Regions from separate parts of the Homo sapiens genome. Here regions 1, 3, 4 and 5 are each linked to region 2. Evidence: promoter capture Hi-C in human tissues and cell types (Jung and others, 2019). All regions are on one chromosome and are shown on one strand. The core of a region is centred on a gene start or on the middle of the fragment in contact, and the rest is flanking DNA. Distances in the headings are between cores, read along the strand shown.

The links. The method cuts DNA at HindIII sites, captures the fragments that hold promoters and counts their contacts. A contact is called where the count stands out against the background at its distance.
Region 1: a fragment that was not itself captured here is called in contact with the fragment with the promoter of UBR7 in region 2 in 2 of the 25 tissues and cell types used here (hippocampus and mesendoderm cells).
Region 3: a fragment that was not itself captured here is called in contact with the fragment with the promoter of UBR7 in region 2 in 1 of the 25 tissues and cell types used here (dorsolateral prefrontal cortex).
Region 4: a contact is called between a fragment that was not itself captured here and the fragment with the promoter of UBR7 in region 2, in 2 of the 25 tissues and cell types used here (dorsolateral prefrontal cortex and lymphoblastoid cells).
Region 5: a fragment that was not itself captured here is called in contact with the fragment with the promoter of UBR7 in region 2 in 2 of the 25 tissues and cell types used here (H1 embryonic stem cells and hippocampus).

What each region holds. Positions count from the first base shown.
Region 1 is chr14:93,517,781-93,520,480 of GRCh38, forward strand. All of the region lies in intron 7 of UNC79 (unc-79 subunit of NALCN channel complex), which reads left to right. Among named protein-coding and RNA genes, the nearest start is that of UNC79, 88 kb to the left of the region's middle. The HindIII fragment of the contact is 4,844 bases long and covers 1-2,700 here.
Region 2 is chr14:93,205,824-93,208,523 of GRCh38, forward strand. It overlaps UBR7 (ubiquitin protein ligase E3 component n-recognin 7), which reads left to right and starts at 1,433. Exons shown (of 11, transcript NM_175748.4): 1 at 1,433-1,618. The coding sequence starts at 1,469. It overlaps GON7 (GON7 subunit of KEOPS complex), which reads right to left and starts at 1,242. Exons shown (of 2, transcript NM_032490.5): 1 at 1,007-1,242. The coding sequence starts at 1,214. RefSeq lists an enhancer at 479-1,338. The HindIII fragment of the contact is 21,573 bases long and covers 1-2,700 here.
Region 3 is chr14:93,631,704-93,634,403 of GRCh38, forward strand. All of the region lies in intron 33 of UNC79 (unc-79 subunit of NALCN channel complex), which reads left to right. Among named protein-coding and RNA genes, the nearest start is that of PRIMA1, 160 kb to the right of the region's middle. The HindIII fragment of the contact is 6,956 bases long and covers 1-2,700 here.
Region 4 is chr14:93,558,792-93,561,491 of GRCh38, forward strand. The region is part of intron 14 of UNC79 (unc-79 subunit of NALCN channel complex); the gene reads left to right. Among named protein-coding and RNA genes, the nearest start is that of UNC79, 130 kb to the left of the region's middle. RefSeq lists an enhancer at 642-1,144. The HindIII fragment of the contact is 3,598 bases long and covers 1-2,700 here.
Region 5 is chr14:93,492,308-93,495,007 of GRCh38, forward strand. All of the region lies in intron 5 of UNC79 (unc-79 subunit of NALCN channel complex), which reads left to right. Among named protein-coding and RNA genes, the nearest start is that of UNC79, 63 kb to the left of the region's middle. The HindIII fragment of the contact is 4,592 bases long and covers 1-2,700 here.

The sequences.
Region 1 (2,700 bases), core at 135-2,634, 310 kb after region 2:
GGTTATTATATATCTTTTCTTTCTAAAGTTTTGCAGCCTTTGACCAACATTCCCCAAATTCTGCCCCCCTGTTATATTTTTCACTTCTAGAATTTCCATTTGGTCCATATGTATATGTGAGTGTGTGTGTGTGTGTGTCTGTGTGTGTGTGTGTGTGTGTGAAATGCAATCTTGCATTCTTGGGATGAACTCATCTTGTCATGCTGTATTATATTGCTAGATTTAATTTTCTAAGTTAAGTGTTCAGGTTCCTACATTTATGAGAGATATTGTTTTGTTTTATTTAATTATGATGTCTTCATCTGGTTCCATTTACAGAGTAATACTGACCTCATAAAATGAGTTGGAAAATGTTTTTTTCTCTTCTAATTTCTGAAAGAGTTTATGTAAGATTTGTATTATTTATTCTTTCAATGATTAATAGAATTTACTGGTGAAGCCATATGGACTTGGGGTTTCTTTGAGGGAAATGTTTTATGTTGTGAATGTAATTTTAATAGTTATGGGTTTTTTTTACTTTTATTGAGTTATAGTGAGTTATTTGTGTCTTTTAAGGAATGTGAGCATCTCATCCAAGTTTTCAAATTTATTAGCATGTCTGTAGGATCTGTAGTGATGTTCTACCTTTCATTCCTGATATTGGTAATTCATGAATTTTCAATTTTTTTTTTGTCCATCAGGATGCTGGGGCCTATCAAGTTTTTGGGACTTTTCAAAGAACCAGTTTTTGATTTTATTGATTTTATCTATGGATTTTCTGATTTCAATTTCATTGATTTCTGTTTCTTTATTGTTTTCTTCCACCTACTGAGTTCTGTTCTTTTTCTGTCTTCTTAAGGGAGATGCATAAACTTTTTATTTCAGATCTTTAATATTTTCTCATATAATAATTTTTAGCTATAAATTTCCATTTAATCATTGCTTTAGTTGCTTCCCAGAAATTCATTATATATGTTATGCTTTTATTGTATTTCAGTGCAGGATATTTTCTAAAGTTTCTTCTTTCATTCATGAATTGTTTAGAAGTGTGCTTTTTAATGTGTAAATATTTGGTAATTTTTCAGATACTTTTGTGTTATTGGTTTCTAGTTTAATTCTATTGTGGCTAGAGAATATGCTGTATGATGTAGCTCCATCTAAATTTTTGAGACTTATTTTATGGACTGGAATACCTATCTTGTTAAATGTTGCACGTGTACTTTAAAACAATGTGTATTCCACAGTGGTTGAGTGGAGATTTCTAACATTATAAAATAGGTTAAGTTGTTTGAGAGTGTTTTCAAGTCTTATATATTTGCTGATTTTCTGTCTGCTTGTTTTATCAGTTACTGAGAGAGGATTATGGAAATTTACAACTTCAGTTATGCTTCTTTCAATTCTCTCACCTTACTAAGGGTACAAATATTTATGGTTTTTATGTTTTCTAGGTTAATTGACCCTTTCATCATTGTAAAATTGCCTTGGTTTTTCTGGTAATATTCTTTGTTCTGAAATCTATTTCTCTGATATTAATATAGACACTCAAGCTTTCTTATAATTTCAATTATGGTATAACAATTATGCCATAATTGCATAGTATAACTTTTTCTGTTTACTTCTAGCTTATCTGAGCCTTTATAATTTAGCTATGTTTTTCACAGGCAGCATACAATTGGGTCATGGGTTTTAAAAAACTCAAATCCTATTTCACAATCTTTGCCTTTTAGACCATTTACATTAGTAAAATTATTGTTTAGACCATTGGCATTTAATGTAATTTCTGGTATGAATTGAAGCCTATCATGATACACTTGTATGACTGAAGCCTATCATGTTACACTTGTTTTATATTTGTCCCATCTGTTCCTTTTTTTTCTTTTTGATATCTTGCCTTTTTTGAATTAATTATTTTTAGTGTTATATTTTATTTCTGTATTGTACTGTTAGCTACACCATCTTTAAAAAATTGCTCTTGGGTTTATAATATGCACTTTTAACTTCACAGTCTACCTCAAATTATATCAGTTTACATATAATGTAAGGCCTTTTTGTATTTTAATTTTACCCCTCCTATCCTTTTTGTTATTGTTACCAAACATCTTACTTCTATATATATTATTAGCCTCTATTCATTATAATTATTTTTTGTTTTAAATAATCAACCATCTTTTAACAACATATTAATATGAGTAAAAAAGCCTTCTGTAGTTATTCAGCATACTTACCATGTCCAACACTCTTTATGCCTTTGTGTAAATTTGAGCTACTATCTGGTATCATTTTCCTTTAGCCCGAAAAACTTCCTTTAACATTTCTTGTAGTGGAGCTCAGCTGGAAATGAATTCTCTTATTTTGTGTTTGTCTTCAAATAGTCTTTATTTCATACTCATTTTTGAAGGATAATTTCACTGGGTATAGAATTCTAGGTTGACAGTTTTTTTCTTTCAGCCTATTAAAGATGTCGTTCCATTGTCTTCTGGCTTGCATTGTTTCTGACGAGAAATCAGCGATCATTCTTATCTTTGTTCCCCTGTAAGTAATGTGTCTTTTTTTCCCTCCTGGCTATTTTTAAGATTTTCTTCTTATTGGTTTTCATCAATTTGTTTATAATGAATTTTGGTGTTATTTTCTTTGCTTTTATCTTGCCTAGGATTCATTGAGCTTCTTGGATTTGGGGGTTGTTTTCATCAGACTTGAAAATTTTTAGCCATTGTCTCTTCA
Region 2 (2,700 bases), core at 183-2,682:
CAGTCTTTGGAACCTGTTCCTACTCTGCGATAGATTGTACTCTTCCAAGTATGTCTGTAGTTTCACACCTGATAAAACTCCTTTTTATTCAACACCCAGCTCAAAAGTCTTATCCTTTCTGAAGACTTCCTAGGGTGTCTGGGTTTGCAACAGTTACAGAGGACCACAGAACCACTTTCACTTTTTTTTTCTTTTTTTTTGAGACGGAGTCTCGCTCTGTCGCCCACGATAGAGTGCAGTGGCGCGATCTCGGCTCACTGCACCCTCTGCCTCCAGGGTTCAAGCGATTCTTCTGCCTCAGCCTCCCGAGTAGAGTAGCTGGGACTACAGGAGCATGCCACCACGCCCAGCTAATTTTTGTATTTTTAGTAGAGACAGGGTTTCACCATATTGGCCAGGCTTGTCTCGAACTCCTGACCTCGTGATCTGCCTGCCTCGGTCTCCCAAAGTGCAGGGATTACAGGCGTGAGCCACCAGCCCGGACCACTTCCACTTTTAATAAGAGTGTCTGCCTGTCTAGTCCCCTTGTGTTTCACAAGGGCAGGAACTGAGTCGCATTCACCTCATTCTTCCTCCAGGGCTCAGCTCAGGGTTTGGCACATAATAGTAGGCATTCGACACGTTTTTTTGTGAAATAAACGAAATAGCGATGAGTTGTGGAAACGCTTGAGTAGAAGCAGCCCAAATAAATATAGTGATAAATGCCAACAATTTTTATTTTTTAAATTATTTTAAAAATAATAATAGAAACGGGGTCTCGATATGTTGCCCTGGCTGTTCTGGAACTCCTGACCTCAAGTGATCCTCCTGCCTCGCCCTCCCAAAGTGCTGGGATTACAGGCGTGAGCCCCACTTCGCCTAGCCCGCCAAAAATTTTTAGATGCAATTCTTCTTTCCTCGAGGCTCACTTTGTCCAAGTCTGCCACTCTACACGGGCTCCCCAAGCCAATTTCCCCTGGGCGCCCGCCCCGTCCTCCGGTCACTGCAGCACCGTCTCAGAGCTCACCGTCCAAGTCCTCGTCTGGAGCCGCCGCCACCCGGTGCTGCACTTCCCCCTGTACCAGAGGGTCGAATAATTCCGTTACCATGTCCTTCATCTGGGCCACGCCAGACAACAGGCCCTGGAAAGGGTCGCCGTCACCCGGCGCCTCACAGGACACCCGCAGCTTCTGCGGCTTCCCTTCCTGCCCGACGTACTCTCCCAGCAGCTCCATGGTGACCGCTAAGCTTCCAGAACACGACACCGGGAAGCGCCACCCGGAGGCGGAAATCAGCCCGCGTCCGGCGCAGGCGGGAGAAGGGAGAGGAGTGACATCCGTTTGTCGGAAGTCGCTCCTCCCCCTTCCTTCGCTTTTTTTCCTTGTCATTGGTTCCTGGCACTCGGGCCCCACCTCCTCCGGCTACGCCCCTCACGGCCGCTTTTCCCGCCTCCGCCGGGGCCGAGCCGCTGTTCGGCTGACAGTTGAGGATGGCCGGAGCCGAGGGCGCCGCTGGGCGGCAGTCGGAGCTGGAGCCCGTGGTATCGTTGGTCGACGTCCTTGAGGAGGACGAGGAGCTGGAGAATGAGGCGTGCGCTGTCCTGGGCGGCAGCGACTCCGAGAAGTGCTCCTACTCTCAGGTGGGCGCGCGGCCCGGGCCTCCTCTCCCCCGGCTCCCGCCGAACCTCCCCTTCCCGGCCCGGCTGTCCCTATTCCCGCCTTGCCGCAGTCGTCTCCCCAGTGGTGGTCCGGGGCCGCCGTTAGTCTGCCGCTTCCTCACCCCAAGCTCACCCTTCCCTTTTAACCCCAACCTCCTGGGCCCCCTTCAGCCTGTGTCCAGCAGGGGCCCCCCTCTCCCCTGTCTCCAACTCTGTCCGGCCCGCCAGGAAGGGCCCTGGAGCAGCTGCTCTGTCCGTCCTCTCCAGCCTCTTCTTGGTGCACCACTGCTTTTCACGAAACCACCCCGCGACCTCTCAGATCCAGACATCTTTGTCCCTGATTTTCCCATCCTAAGATTATTTATTTATTTATTTATTAGGGACCGAATGGGAGAGTCAGGTTAAAGAGATTTTCAAATCCATAGGGATTTGCGGTGAGCTCCTTGACAGCTAGTTCCTCTGCAATTTAGTTGGACAAGTGCTAGCTAGTACTTTTTCTTTCTTTCTTTTTTTGGCAAAATGAAGCAAGTACCCATGTCTATCTGCAGTCTGCCCCCCTCCCCTGGAAATAGACCGGAAACAGAACAGCAAGTGGCTCTGGCAAGGGAGGGGAGAGAGGAGAAAAGGATCTGTTTGGCATTTGGAAGACGTTGTGAGTGAGCAAGTGTTTGAGGGGGTGTGATGTGGTGTTTAGTGACTCACCCTACACTTCGAGGTACAAAAATGGAAAAGGATGGGTAGGAAGAAGACTGACAAAGGATGAGAATTGGTAGGAAGAAGGGTTACCTAGGAAGAGGGGTGGATTGGAACACTGGGGAGATGAGGGGAGAGACTTGTATTCATTATGTGGTATGAACTGAGATCATAATACCAGTTCTCGTTGTTGACCAAGGTTAGTTTACACTGCAAAGTGCTAGATTGTTGAATAAACCTGGTATCCAGACATAGCCCCAGGTATTTTAAAACCTTTGGTCACCACTAAAACAATTTTTCCCCTGCTTTACTTAAAAAAAAAAAAAAGAAAAAAGTTATGTCTATATGTAAACTATTTTTGAAGTGTAGTT
Region 3 (2,700 bases), core at 69-2,568, 430 kb after region 2:
CCTGAAAAAACAGATAAAGATCTTAAATACTGGACTGGTAGTTTGGAACATCATCATCTTCATTGTTCATTCATTCATGCATTCATTCATTCAGCAACTATTTACTAAGTGTCTGCTGGATGCCAGACACTGTGCTTGGCACTGGAGGTCAAAAGTGAATAAATAAAACACCGCTTGTTCTCCAGGAGTTTGCAGTCATAATAGTAATTATAGCTACTATCTATTTAACATCTATCATGTGCCAGGCACTGTGCCAAGTGGCTCACACACATTGTTATCTGATCCAATTGTTACATCAACACATGCGTGATAGATGTTGTTGGCCCCATATTATAGATTAGGTAATTGAGATCCAGAGAAGCTAAATGACTTGCCTAAAGTCAAATATCTACTAAGTGATAGATTCAGGAATTGATGCTAGGCCCTTTAGACTTACAAAGCCATGTTCATTTTTAGTATACCACACTTCCTTTAAATAATTCAAATTCAGTTGTAATAAGGATTATGGAAATTCTAAGAAATAGTTTCCAAATGACAGTTATTTGCCCTTTTGGTAGCAAAGAAGAATGGCTAGTTCTGAATCTAATTATTCTTCTTTTATTACAAAAATCTGTTAGATCACATGATAAAATGCCAATTTTATGACCACATACTAAAATCATAAAAGTGTATCTTCTCCTAATTTGTACGAGTTATCTTTAATAAAAGATAGTGGGCTGGGTGTGGTGGCTCACGCCTGTAATCCCAGCACTTGGGAAGCTGAGGCAGGAGGATCACTTGAGCCCAGGAATTCGAGACCAGCCTGGGTAACATAGTGAGGCCCCAGTCTCTATAAAAAAATTAAAAATTAGCCAGGCGTGGTGGCGCGCACCATAGTCCCAGCTACTGGGGAGGGCAAAGTGGGAGGATCGCTCAAGCATGGGAGATGGCGGCTGCAGTGAGCTGTGATTGTGCCACTCCACTCCAGCCTGTGCACCCTGTCTCAAAAAAAAAAAAATGAAGAAATAAAAAGATAGTGAATTAGAGTATAATTTGAAATAGGATTATTAGCTCAGTAGGACTCAAATGATAGTTAAATATACCATAAAATGAATTTACAAATTACAAATGTTTCATGATCCCAAAGTCATGATTGATCTAGACTTTGGATTTAGCTTAGCACTTAATTAGATTTCCACCTTTCTCCTCCTTGCCATTAAAAGCATGCATTCTATAGCTCTTGGTGGTGTGTTCTTGGAGGTATCATGCCTGGTACCTTATACACTGAGCTAAACATTAAGGGTTTTATTCTCAGGGAATTCTGCTGTCTTTGAAAACACCTGAGAATTGAAGAAATTATTCAATCATCAGAGGTTTAAAATTTTCATTTGATTGAGTCTTCTAGATGCTGCTAAGTTTTAAATTTGTTGCATCTTCAAAAAGAATTCTGCTTTTGAATTTTACTTAAAGATGTGCTTTTCAAGTGAGTCATAACATTGTAAGTTTTACCAATTAGTGGCAAAAACCAGAGATGTTTAGTATTAGGTTGAGTAGTCATTTCCATGAGTTAGGTTAATATTGACTTTAAGACACAAGAATTCCCATCACATCCTTCCCTTTTGATCAGTTTATCAGCTGGTTATTTCGTAGCTAAACGTGTTGTGACCACCATTAATCAAACAGCATGCTAGTTACATTAAAAATAATGTTATAATTGATTTCACATCACACCAAGTTGCCACCTTGGTGCCATGATTGTGAAATGTGTGTATAACATTGAAGAGTTTCCAGGGGCCATGCGGTCATCCCGGTCTCTACCATCCCTTTCTAGGGCGTGTAGTTGATAGCTTCAGTTTCTGAAGTTTTTCTTATAACACAGAGAATAACCACAAGTTGTCAAATATACAAGGTATTTGGGGTCATGCAGAAAAGTTGCATCCATGATGCTCTGCCTCTCTCACTGGGCTGGTTGGTAGGGATTGGTGGGACTGCTGGGAATAGGACCAGAGGAGACTGCTTTCCAACTCAGCAATCTACTGGCAAAAGTGTTTTTCATTGTTTTCTGGTTTGGAAATGCTAATAACTTGACATTTCACTGATGGGATATGTTTCAATGCTTAACTTACAGGATAAAAATGTTACCACTTTTTAAAAACAAAGATGTGTACTAGAATATACTCGTGGAATGTTGTTTGATTCACATTTTTCAAACAGTAGGCAGAGGCTCGCACAGAGATTGAAAACAGCATTGACTTTGGAGTTGATATGTTTTGGTTTTAGGACCACCTCAGTTGCTGACTGGTTCCAAGTCATATAATTTCATTTGCTTCAATTTCTCTCTCTAAAAATTGGGGTTGATATGTGTCATCCTACCCTAAAATATACACGCACACACACACATCATGTACACACGCACACATACACAAGGACCTCATGGGGCTATGAGGAAGATGGAAATAATGTATGCACAAGCTCTGTTAAAGAAAGTTAAGCCATACATTTAAATTTGTTATTTGTCTTAAATCATTTTTGAAACATGGCAGAGTATATAATTTTAAAAGTAGATGAAGATAATCATATTTCATTCAGTTATAACTGGGATAAATATTTACAGGCGACAAATCAGTGCTAATGGGCACTGTTACCATCCTCACTGTGTGAAGAAAGGCATCCGGAACAGCAGAGTACCTTAATTTTTCATTTGAACAGAAGCATACAATT
Region 4 (2,700 bases), core at 197-2,696, 350 kb after region 2:
GCCATAACTGTGGAGGCCAAGCTGCGTTATAATAGAAAATCTTCCTTTTCTGTTTCATGGAACCTTAGACAGAAGCTTCTCATTTTTCCAAGATGCCACCCAGTGGGCCGCATGGGGGAATAAGATGTCAAATTAAACACAAAAAAAGGAAAAATGGATCAGGATGTGAGTGATACAGACTCTGGACCCATGTGCTGCCAATTCTCTCCTCTCAAAGACAGCACTGATAAAAGAAAAACTTCAGCTGAATTAAATTTAAAAGAGCTTAATGAGCAATGAACAATTTGTGAATTGGGCAGCCCCCAGAATCACAGCTGATTCACAGAGACTCCAGCACAACAGCTATGTGTGCTGTGCTGGAGTATAAAGATTTATAAACAAAAACAGGGAAGTGACCTACAGAAATTGGCAGTGAGGTGCAGAAACAGCTGGATTGGTTACAGGTTGGCGCTTGCCTTATCTGAACACAGTTTGAACACTTAGCAGTCTATATGAGTGGTTGAGGTATGGCCGCTTCAACGGCCAAGACTCAGTTATTGGCACATACTACTAAGTTAGGTTTTTAATCTTTTCTGACTACTAAGCTAGTGGAGGAAATTTTCATGCACGTCTGTGTGAAAAGACCACCAAACAGGCTTTGTGTGAGCACTAAAGCTTTTTAATCACCTGGGTGCAGGTGGGCTGAGTCCAAAAAGAGAGTCAGCAAAGGGAGATAGGGGTGGGGCCATTTTATAGGATTTGGGTAGGTAGTGGAAAATTACAGTCAAAGGGGTTGTTCTCTGGCTGGCAGGGGTGGGGGTCACAAGGTGCTCAATGGGGGAGCTTTTGAGCCAGGATGAGCCAGGAGAAGGAATTTCACAAGGTAATGTCATCAGTTAAGGCAGGGACTGGCCATTTTCACTTCTTTTGTGGTGGAATGTCATCAGTTAAGGCAGGAACCGACCATTTTCACTTCTTTTGTGATTCTTCACTTTCTTCGGGCCATCTGGACATATCTGTGCAGGTCACAGGGGATACGATGGCTTAGCTTGGGCTCAGAGGCCTGACATTCCTGTTTTCTTATATTAATAAGAAAAATAACATAAAATAGTGTTGAAGTGTTGGGACAGGGAAAATTTTTTGGGGGGTGGCATGGAGAGATAATGGGCGATGTTTCTCAGGGGTGCTTCAAGCGGGATTAGGGGCGGCTTGGGAACCTAGAGTAGGAGAGGTCAAGTTGAAGGAGGATTTTGTGGTAAGGGGTGATATTGTGGGATTGTTAGAAGGAGCATTTGTCGTATAGAATGATTGGTGATGGCCTGGATACGGTTTTGGATTAATTGAGAAACTAAACGGAAGGTACAAGGTTTGAATAAAAGAAAGAAAAAAATAGGTATTAAAGGACTAAGAATTGGGAGGACCCAGGACATCCAATTAGAGAGTGCCCAAGGGGGTTCAGCGTAATTACTTGCTTGGTTGGTGAGTTTTGGGGCTCTATCCTTGAGTTTTTTTATGTTGTCATGTACCAGGCCAGATCGATTTAGGTAAAAACAACAATCTTCATTTAAAAATATACAGAGTCCTCCTTTTTCAGCAGTGAGTAAGTCAAGGCCTCGGCAGTTTTGGAGGACAACTGCAGCTTAAAGAGTCAACTTGGGCCTGAAGGACTGATAAAGTTTGTGATATCTCTGTGATGCTAGCAGAGAAGTCATTAGAGAGGCTACGGAAGGTCGTGATAGAGGTTGAAATGCCTGCCATTCTAGTATCGAGAGCAATAGTGGAGGCAGAAAGTCGTAAACTGACAAGCAAGGATATTAGTGGAATAACTCTTTTTTGTCATCTCAGTGTCATGAGGGGAACAGGGAGCTCTTCGGTCCCATTCGCAAATTGAATTTTGGGAGTAAGGAAAACTAGTGTGCATGTGCCTGTCCAATTAGCAGGTAGCCACATGTAGGTAGAGGATCCACAGAGGAAGAAGAGAGCTTGTGCCAGGCAAAACTGGAAATGCAAAGTAAAAAGATGAGAAGGAATGCTGAAAGGGGTGTCTTGTACCCAGACTCCTAGGGATCCAGCTAGGGCGGCAGCCGTCAGAGGTTGTAATGGGGACTGATGGGGTAACTGCATAGAGGGAGAGGCTCGATTTTCATGGTGTATGAGAAAACGTTGAGTGCCCACGAGCAACCTTTCACTGTTATTTATGGGGCTGGGTATAAGTAAACAAGAAGAGGGCCTGGGAGGAGAGTCTGAAGAGCAAGGGGAAGGTAGCCAAGGATGGAGGGAAATACAGGGTGTCTTCCTAAGCAATAATTACTGCTAATGTTTTTAAGTTTGCCAGTATTGATAGAAGGCTTATCTGTAATATGGAGCTGTAAGGCTCCAATTGTTTCAGTGATGTATGTAGTTGGGCTTTGGAGATGAAGAGTGAAGGAACATCAAGAAGGGGAATTCCAGTGGGTCTTTGCTGAGAGATACATAAAGGAGCAGCCACAGGAAAAGTAGTTTTTGTTGTGAGGGGTCCAAATATGGGGGGAGTAGAGTTGATATAAGGAGAAAGGTTTTTAAAGTAAGTGTGGAGGAGGGCAGCAGCTTGCTGATGTGAAATGTCTGGGGAGGTCTTGCTGGACCTGTCTAGAAAGTAAAGAAGTTCTTCAGGAGGGTAAAGGTGAGGGCTATTAAAGGAAGTTTGGAGGTGTAGGGAGACAGGAGATGTTTCCCAGCCTG
Region 5 (2,700 bases), core at 185-2,684, 290 kb after region 2:
AGATTTTGCGTCACTTGGGCCAAGGATGAGTTTTAAATTATGGAGAGAGTTTTGTTTTGTTTTATTTTTCGAGATGGAATCTCACTTTGTTGCCCAGGCTGGAGTGCAGTGGCACGGCTCACTGCAACCTCTGCCTCCTGGGTTCAAGCAATTCTCCTGCCTCAGCCTCCCCAGTATGTGGGACTACAGGCACATGCCACCATGCCCGGCTAATTTTTGTATTTTTAGTAGAGATGGGATTTCATCATGTTTGCCAGACTGGCCTCGAACTCCTGACCTCAAGTGATCCGCCTGTCTTGGCCTCCCAAAGTGCTGGGATTACAGGCATGAGCCACCATGCCTGGCTGGACAGAGTTTTTATTGATAAGGTAAATGGGGCATTCTGGGAGGGGAAGCTGTTTTAACAAAGGAACTGTCCAGGTATGTTCATGGGTCAGTGATGGCTCTGAACAACGTTCATATAGCAGACCTGTGGAGATCAGCAGACACTATGTACAAGAAAGTGTCTTGGAACATCTGCACTTGAGAATTCAGTGATGGCTTAAGACCAAATTTCCAATTCTAGAGCAACCATTCAATCAGTAGTCACTGAGTATCCACCATGTACTGGGCACTGGGGGCTCCATGGTTAGTGACATGGGACTGACCCCATCCTCATCTCAGGAAGCTTATCGTATGGTCGGGTTGAGAGGCGAGAAGACAATCAAATAATCATAAAATCAAGTGTAAAATTTTGCTTGTGACAAGTGCTTCAAGTATGTTATACTATAAGATGTTATAAAAGGAAATTTTGCTTTTATTGAGGAAGTCAGGAGGGCTTCTTTGAGGAAGTAACCTTTGGTTTGAGAACTGCAGGATGAATAATGTGAACAAGGCCTACAAGGGGGGGCGGTTCAGGAAGAGGAATCTCATGTGTCACGGGGGAGTCTGGCAAACAGCTGAGACTGAAGGATCAGTGTAGCTGGAACTCAGAGTGAGGGCTCCCTGGTGTGACACTAGACTTAAGAGTTCCATGGGCTGGAACATGCAGGGTGTTGTGAGCTATGTTAGGGAGGCCTGCGTTTATTCCAAATCTGATGGGAAGCTGCTGAACGGCTTTGAGTGGGCTGTGGTGTCTGTCACCCCTGCTGCAGTTGAGAACGGATTGAGAAGAAGCCAGGTTGGATATAGATTGACCTGGAAGGAGGTCATTGCATTTGCGTAAGCACTTCAAAGGCAGGGACAATTGAAACTGAAGAATAAGCAGATCTTTCTGAAAGCTATTTAGGAAGTAAAATTGATAGGACTTGGTAACATATTGGCTAGAGTGGGTTTCTGGATGCACTAACTGGATGCATGGTGGTCATATTAGTTTGTTGTTGCACTGCTATAAAGAAATACCTGAGACTGGGTAATTTATAAAGAAAAGAAGTGTCATTGAGTCATGGTTCTGTAGGCTGTACAGGAAGCATAGTGGCTCCTGTCTCTAAGGGAGGCCTCAGAAAACTCATAATCATGGTAGAAGGCAAAGGGGAAGCACGTCTTACATGGCTGGAGCAGGAGGAAGAGAGAGAAGGGGAAGTGCCACATATATATATATATATATATATATATATTTTTTTTTTTTTTTTTTTGAGATAGAGTTTTGCTCTTGTTGCCCAGGCTGGAGTGCAGTGGCACAATCTCAGCTCACTGCAACTTCCGCCTCCCAGGTTCAAGCAATTCTCCTGCCTCAGCCTCCCAAGTAGCTGGGATTACAGGCACCCACCACCACACCCAGCTAATTTTTTGTATTTGTAGTAGAGATGGGGTTTCACCATGTTGGCCAGGCTGGTCTTGAACTCCTGACCTCAGGAGTTTTGATCCACCCGCCTCGGCCTCCCACAGTGCTGGGATTACAGGCATGGTGCCACACACTTTTAAACAACCAGATCTTGTGAGAACTCTATCATGAGAACAGCACCAAAGGGATGGTGCTAAACCATTCATGAAGGACCCACCCCCATGATCCAATCACCTTCTGCCAGGCCCCACCTCCAACACTGGGGATTACAACTGAACATGAGATTTGGTGGGGACACAGATGCAAACTGTAACAGTGGTTCTACTCACTGATACTGGAGGCATTGGAAGAAGAAGATCAGGCCTCTGAGGGAAGATCTTGAGATCTGTTTCAGACGTGTTGTGTTCACAGTATCTTTGAGACACCTAATAGGAGCTGGTAATTAGGTAGTTGTATTATGGGTCTGGAGCTCAGAACAGAGCTTTGGACTAGAGATAATGAACTTTGAGCCCACACACAAGTGTCCAGTGACCTTCACTGAATTGCATATAGATGGCTGCTGAAGTTGTGTGTGAGTGTGAGATTGCTTAGGGGAGAGCAGAGAATGAAAGAAATGTGGAGTGGTTCTGTGATTAGGCCTTCAGAAACTTCAACAGATAATGGCCCAGTGGAAGAGGATGAGCTCTCCAAAGAGACAGAGAGGTTGCATCTGTTAAGATGTCTTTGGCTGACAGAGGCTTTAAAGTATAAACACATTGGTTGTTTACTTAATAGGAAGTCCTGAAGATAGCTCCACAATATCAGGGGGCTGAGATCTTGGAATTCCCCTCATGTTTGCAAGAAAGCTGCCACTGTGGAGGTTATTATAACCTCGTATAACTACAAAACAGGTAATAGGATCAAGCAGAGTCATTAAGAGAAAAGTCTCCTGGTGTACC